Linked DNA regions of Homo sapiens: region 1 is linked to region 2. Evidence: promoter capture Hi-C in 16 types of primary human blood cells and fetal thymus (Javierre and others, 2016). All regions are on one chromosome and are shown on one strand. The core of a region is centred on a gene start or on the middle of the fragment in contact, and the rest is flanking DNA. Distances in the headings are between cores, read along the strand shown.

Region 1 (3,050 bases), core at 94-2,593, 310 kb after region 2:
CCGTATGCTAAAATACTTGCTGTTTTACTTTTCCTTTCATTGACATTTACAATCCTTTGTCTTTTAGTAGTTTCACAAGCTTTGAAACAATGTTTAGATAATTTTAAAAAATAAAAATAAAACAATGCTAAGGGTACAATCATTGATGTTTTAAATATATCAGCTGCTATAAGGCACTTTGTCCAATTTTCATAATAATTTTGTCTTAATGGTGTTAAGAGCAAAGATTTAAGATTTACTTTCTTAGTGCCATAAAAATAAGAGCTATTCAGCTGGGTTTCTGAAATATTAAGTGCAATGCAAAAGTTTGTTTGCCTAATATCCCTGGACACCAGGCTTCCCAAAATATCCTGCCCCAGACCATAGCCACATCTTCCCACTAGATTCCTGGGCAACTAGAAACAATGGTAAAGGAAAACAAGGTCACACAATTTTTTTTGAGATGGAGTCTTGCTCTGTCACCCAGGCTGGACTGCAGTGGCGCGATGTCGGCTCACTGCAAGCTCAGCCTCCCTGATTCACACCATTCTCCTGCCTCAGCCTCATGAGTTGCTGGGACTACAGGCGCCCGCCACCACGCCCAGCTAATTTTCTTTTCTATTTTTCGTGGAGATGGGGTTTCACCATGTTAGCCAGGATGGTCTTGATCTCCGACCTCGTGATCCACCCGCCTCGGCCTCCCAAAGTGCTGGGATAACAGGCGTGAGACACTGTGCTCGGCTAAGGTCACACTAATTGTTAGCTGGGAGTGGACCCCAAACCTGTTGAAAGAACCCATCAGCTTTCCTTTAAGAAGGTAATGCCACAGACCACAACAGATAATTGAGGGTTATTCTGTGAGCTTCCACTAAAGCTAAAACATGTGTGGAAGGGACAGAAGAGAGGATAACAGGTTTGCTGGCCTGTTTACCACTTGGGGACGTTTGGATGGATGATGAAGAAGAAAAAGAATCAAAAGGACTGGGGCTCATCACAGGTGGGAATAGTATAATATTAGCTCTTCATTCAGAACCATGGTAGCAAAAAGAGAGAAAACTGCATCTGTGGACTGAATTATTCCCCTCAGCCCTCTACCCCAGTGTGTCTTCTTTTTGGGAATAGAGTAGAAAGCCAGGAAAATGGTGGGGATCTAGGAGGAAGCAGGCATCTCCTCTGACTTGCACGTCCCCCTGTTTCACTGTCCTTTGTTAACTCACTGTGTTTGACAGCCACATCTGTGGTCAGCCAGGGGTGCAGCTGCTCCTACTGGTAGCTAATGGCCATAGAACACCAGGGGCGTCTTAAAGCCCCTTCTGTGATCCGCACCACTGCTCCTGGGTATACTCCCAGGGTCTGTTATATGGGTAACATGCACCTCGCAGCAAGATCTCCTGAAATGGGTTAGGACAGGAATATTAGGTAATTGCAAACCCATACTTCCCACCATTCTTGTCTTCAATTATGGCCAATTACATAGTTACGGCAGCCTTGTATTGTTACAATACAATCTTCCTCTATGCTTAGGAACCTCTATGGAGATGGTTGTGTTACTTCAACCAAAGACAAGAAGAGACTAATCTGCAGAATTAGAACAATTCCCTAGTTCTTCAACAAATCAGTGCTGCTTTTCTTGCCAATAATAGACGTGTTTGTATTTCTCCGTGGAAACCCTTGGGGTAAACATGTTGCTTGTTCTTCCAATAAAGAATTGAACCACCAGAGGGCCTCAGGCGACTCAGGAGGTTTGGGAAGAGACAAAGGCACATGCTTAGAGGGTCTGGAGAAGGCGAGGAAGAAGGAAGGGAGCCAAGTAAAACATGTGACTGACCAGGGGCTTTGGAGAAGACAAGCCCTGCAGGAAGGCACGCATGTGGTCATTCTGTCTGTAGCCTCCCATTCCTCCCTGCTTTCCCCAGCTGCATCTACCTGGATCCTGAATTTGAACCAAGTGGTCCAAACGGCCCGGTCACCTGAGCAACCCCTCTGCAGGAACCGCAGGTGTGGGCGGGGTGGTGGGGAGGAGGCGGGGGGGTGGGGGAAAGGCGGGGGGTGGGGGGAGCTCAGCGGCGCCATCTAGCGTCCAGACAGCGGTGGCTCTGGGAAAGCTGATTGTTTTCTTAGCCAGAGGAGGAAGAGAAGGTTGGTCCTCAGCGCCTGGACGCCTGGTAGACGATAGGGGATGACATGATGAGTAAAATAAGGACAGGAACACGCCGAATCCCCTTTCATAATGATAGGACCACGCCAAATCCCCTTTCTTTTTAAAATTTGACATATACCCTTGAATATATATGTATTCTTATAAAATATGGTTATCTGGTATGTATTTATGTATATTGATATAAAGCTGCAGATTTAAAAATAGTACTTCTTTCATCTCTCTCCATCTACATAGTCTTCGTGGTTTTCAGTAAAATGATAATTTCTGGATTACTTAGATGTAGTTATTATGATCCAACCCTTGAATAAGGGGAGTTGAGAGTTGGTGAAACATCCCTGTCTCAATATTTGTTCATGCCATATTTCCTTTGAAAGAATTTACAGATAAAGGCATCAAATACCTGAAAAAGTAACAAGTTTACTATATTTTACTTGAGAATTTGTATATATATTTTTAAGAAAGCTTTTTAGTTTTGGCGTAATTATAAACTCACAAGAGGTAGCAAAAAGAGTACGGAGTTCTGTGAACCTTCAACTGGATTTCTCTAATGGTGACATCTTGCAATGGACTGAGTATGTCTCCCTCAAATTCATGTGTTGAAATCTTAATCTCCATAGTGGTAGCATTAGGAGATGGGGCCTTTGGAAGGTGATTAGGTCACAAGGGCAGTGCCCTCACAAATGAGATTAATGCCCTTATAAAAAAAAAAAAAGACCGCAGAAAACTCTCTTGTCCCTTCCACCATGTGAGGACGCAGTGGGAAGATGGCCAGTCCATGCACCAGGAAGCAGGCCCTCCCCAGACACTGAAGCTGCCAGGGCCTTGATCTTGGACTTCCAGCCTCCAGAACTGTGAGAAATTAACTTATGTTGTTTATAGGCCACCTAGCTACGTGTTTGGTTATAACACC
Region 2 (3,216 bases), core at 596-3,095:
ATAAGCCAGGTGCAGAAAGACAAATACCGCATGATCTTGCTTATTGTGGAATCTAAAAAAGTCAAACTCATAGAAGTAAAGGGTAGAATGGTGATTCCCAGAGGCTGGGGGCTCGAGGGAGGTGGACAGGGAAAGGGAAAGGGAAGACATTGGTCAGTGGGTATGATGTTACAGGTAAATAGGATAAGTTCAGGTGTTCTATTGCACAGCAAGGCGACTGTAGTGAATAATGATGTACATTTCAAAATGGCTAAAAGAGGATTTTAAATGTTCTCACCACAGATAAATGGTAAATATCATTTGATAGATGTGATAATTACCCTGATATGATTACACATTATATACATGTATCAAAATATTATAGCCCCATAAATATATACAATTATTTGTCAATTAAAAATGAAACTTTTTAAAAAGCAATTGATTTAAAAAAATTTTTTTAAGCCAGCGTGAGCCAAAGGGGCAAGACCAATGGGGCTGGAGCACCTCAAGCCCATGGTGGGCAGTGGTGGGTCAGAGCTGAGCCCGAGGGCCTGGTTTCTCATCTTCTTTCTCTCTTTTTTTCCTTTTGATCCACCCGGCCCCCAAACAAAAGTCAGTGCCTGAGTACACAGAGACATTTCTCCTTTCTCACTCTCTAGTGAAGAGACCCCATGTAACCACAGCAGGGGAGAGATGCCACCCAAGGTCATCCAGGGAGATGGGGGGGTTGGCATCAAGGACGAGCATGGGGAGTTTCTGTGGCTTGCCTGTGGGTTACGCTCTGTTACTCAGGCACACGTCTGTCTAAGGGAGCCCCCTGAGGGGTGCCTCACACAGCGAGGGCAATCTGTGTCACTACTGTGAACTCCTCCCTTGGTTTGGGAGTGGGAAGGTGCAGGGCTAACAGATGACATTTGGAAGGGCAGGAAATATTATCTGGCACCCACAGGCCTTCCCAGTGGGATCAGAGCCCAGGCAGCTGGAGGCCGATTTGGTGAACAAGAAAGAGCTCAAGGCCCTGGGTTCCAGTCCTGGCTCTGCAACAAGCTCTCTGCGTGATCTTGGGAAATTCACTTCCCTTTAATGCCGAGATGACGGACTGGGCAGCATGGTCCGGGTGGTCCCTTTCCACCCTGAGGTCATACAGCCCTGGGGTGAAGCTCAGGGTTGGCGGGCTCAGGCCTCACTTGTTCTCCTGCCCCTCCCTAATTCCCCCACCCGGCCTGACTGACAGCTGGGCCAGTCAGGGCTATTTATGGCTTTGCCTGATGTTGTGCTCCCCTGCGCCTCCCATGCTGGGCCCCACCCAGCTCGGGCCCAGCACCCACCTGCCCAGTCCACCAGCAACATCGCTGGGAGTCGTGCTGCTTTGGCTCTCCCAGAACAAGCCATGCCCTGGGGAAAGAACTCCTCTCCCCACTGGGGACACCATCTGGGGTGCCTTCCCTCCGCCCCGGCCTGCCGGATCTGGAGGCCCCACTCCCGCCCAGCCTGGGAGCCCCCTCGGCCATCACCACTGCTCTGCCAAGACATGGCCCTGCAGAATGCCCTCTACACCGGGGACCTGGCAAGGTTGCAGGAGCTGTTCCCCCCGCACAGCACAGCCGACCTGCTGCTGGAGAGCCGGGCCGCAGAGCCTCGCTGGAGCAGCCACCAGAGGGGTGAGGGGCATCTGGGGGTTGCTGAGAACCAGGGGGCTGGGCTGACTGCCTCGGCCACAGAGGTCCTAAGGGCTTGAGTGAAAGGAGAAGCCCCCGGCTGTTTCTCCCCGACCTCAAAGCTTGCCCAATAGCCTACACCTTGGCCCAAGAACACAGTCATGTGGAGCCCAGAATAGCTCCTGCTGGATGCGTGGCCAGGTCAGCCTCGGAGCGTGGGACACAGGGGCCTTCTGTCTGTCTGTATTTCCCTCCTGCTCTCTCTCTCTCTCTCTGCCTTTGGCATATACCTCTCCTCCTCCCCACTCCCCTTTCCCTGCCCACATGCTCATGAGTTGGTCTCCAGAAGAGTGCAAGGGGCAGGGAGAGCCCCTCGATGACAGACACCCCCTCTGTGCCAGGCTGGTGGAGAAGCCCAGCAGAGGGTCTGAGGAGCACCTCAAGTCTGGCCCGGGACCCATCGTCACCCGCACAGCCTCAGGACCTGCCCTTGCCTTCTGGCAGGCAGTGCTGGCTGGGGACGTGGGCTGTGTCTCCCGCATCCTCGCGGACTCCAGTACTGGCCTGGCTCCTGATTCCGTCTTTGATACCAGCGACCCAGAGCGATGGAGGGATTTCCGCTTCAACATCCGTGCTCTGAGTACGGGCCGGGGCACTGGGGGCTCTCAGTGGGAGAGAGGGGAGGCTGCAGATGGAGCTCTGGGCTCCCTCTTCCTGCCTCTGCCCACCTCACCCCATTGGCTGGAAGGTCTCTGCCTTCCCTGGGGATCTGAGGCCCACGTCTCCCCTCCCTAGGACTCTGGTCTCTGACATACGAAGAGGAGCTGACCACCCCACTGCATGTGGCAGCCAGCCGTGGCCACACGGAAGTCCTGCGGCTGCTGCTGAGGCGGCGAGCAAGGCCAGACAGTGCCCCTGGGGGCCGCACCGCCCTGCACGAGGCCTGTGCTGCAGGCCACACTGCCTGTGTTCATGTGCTGCTGGTGGCAGGAGCCGACCCCAACATCGCTGACCAGGATGGGAAACGCCCCCTGCATCTCTGCCGGGGGCCTGGCACCCTTGAGTGAGTGACCCCTCACCCCAACCCCCAGTTCCACTCTGAAGGGAAGCAAAGAGGCCTTCTCAGGGAGGATGGGGGAAAATGTCAGGGACCTGGGACAGAGCAGTCCAGGCTTGGGGCGCGGGTCAGGGTGCAATTACTTCCCAAGCCATCCACCCGTTGACCCCATGAACTTTGGAGTGGCCTGGACTTTGGACAGTTTTCTGGTCTCCCAGGGGTGGAGGGAGGCTGTGGCAGGGGTGCAGTTGCATGGCCCGCATTGGGAAATTGCCTGGCTCCATTATGGGGAGGTGGTGTTGCTTAAAATTTTTGAAAACACTTTCTGAGCTTATCCTATGTTCCAGGCACTGTGCTAAGCACAACAGCAACTAAGTCCCTGAGGCCCTGCCCTCAGGGAGCTTACTGTCCAGTGATCCAGACAGGGAGTAGAGGATGGTGGCCCCAGTGAGGACCTGCCTGGGTCCCTCTGGGTAGGGTCTGGTTTTCCAAGACAGGTCTAGAATCTCCATATTGGTA

What was found. The method cuts DNA at HindIII sites, captures the fragments that hold promoters and counts their contacts. A CHiCAGO score of 5 or more calls a contact.
Region 1: a fragment that was not itself captured here is called in contact with the fragment with the promoter of ASB10 in region 2 in 2 of 17 cell types (erythroblasts and M2 macrophages); the score reaches 6.9 in erythroblasts.

The regions. Positions count from the first base shown.
Region 1 is chr7:150,875,936-150,878,985 of GRCh38, reverse strand. It overlaps LOC105375567 (a long non-coding RNA gene), which reads left to right and starts at 1,856. Exons shown (of 5, transcript XR_928171.3): 1 at 1,856-1,977. The HindIII fragment of the contact is 2,523 bases long and covers 82-2,604 here.
Region 2 is chr7:151,185,879-151,189,094 of GRCh38, reverse strand. ASB10 (ankyrin repeat and SOCS box containing 10) reads left to right here and starts at 1,845. Exons shown (of 6, transcript NM_001142459.2): 1 at 1,845-2,280; 2 at 2,436-2,703. The coding sequence starts at 1,965. RefSeq lists an enhancer at 758-847. The HindIII fragment of the contact is 17,456 bases long and covers 1,765-3,216 here.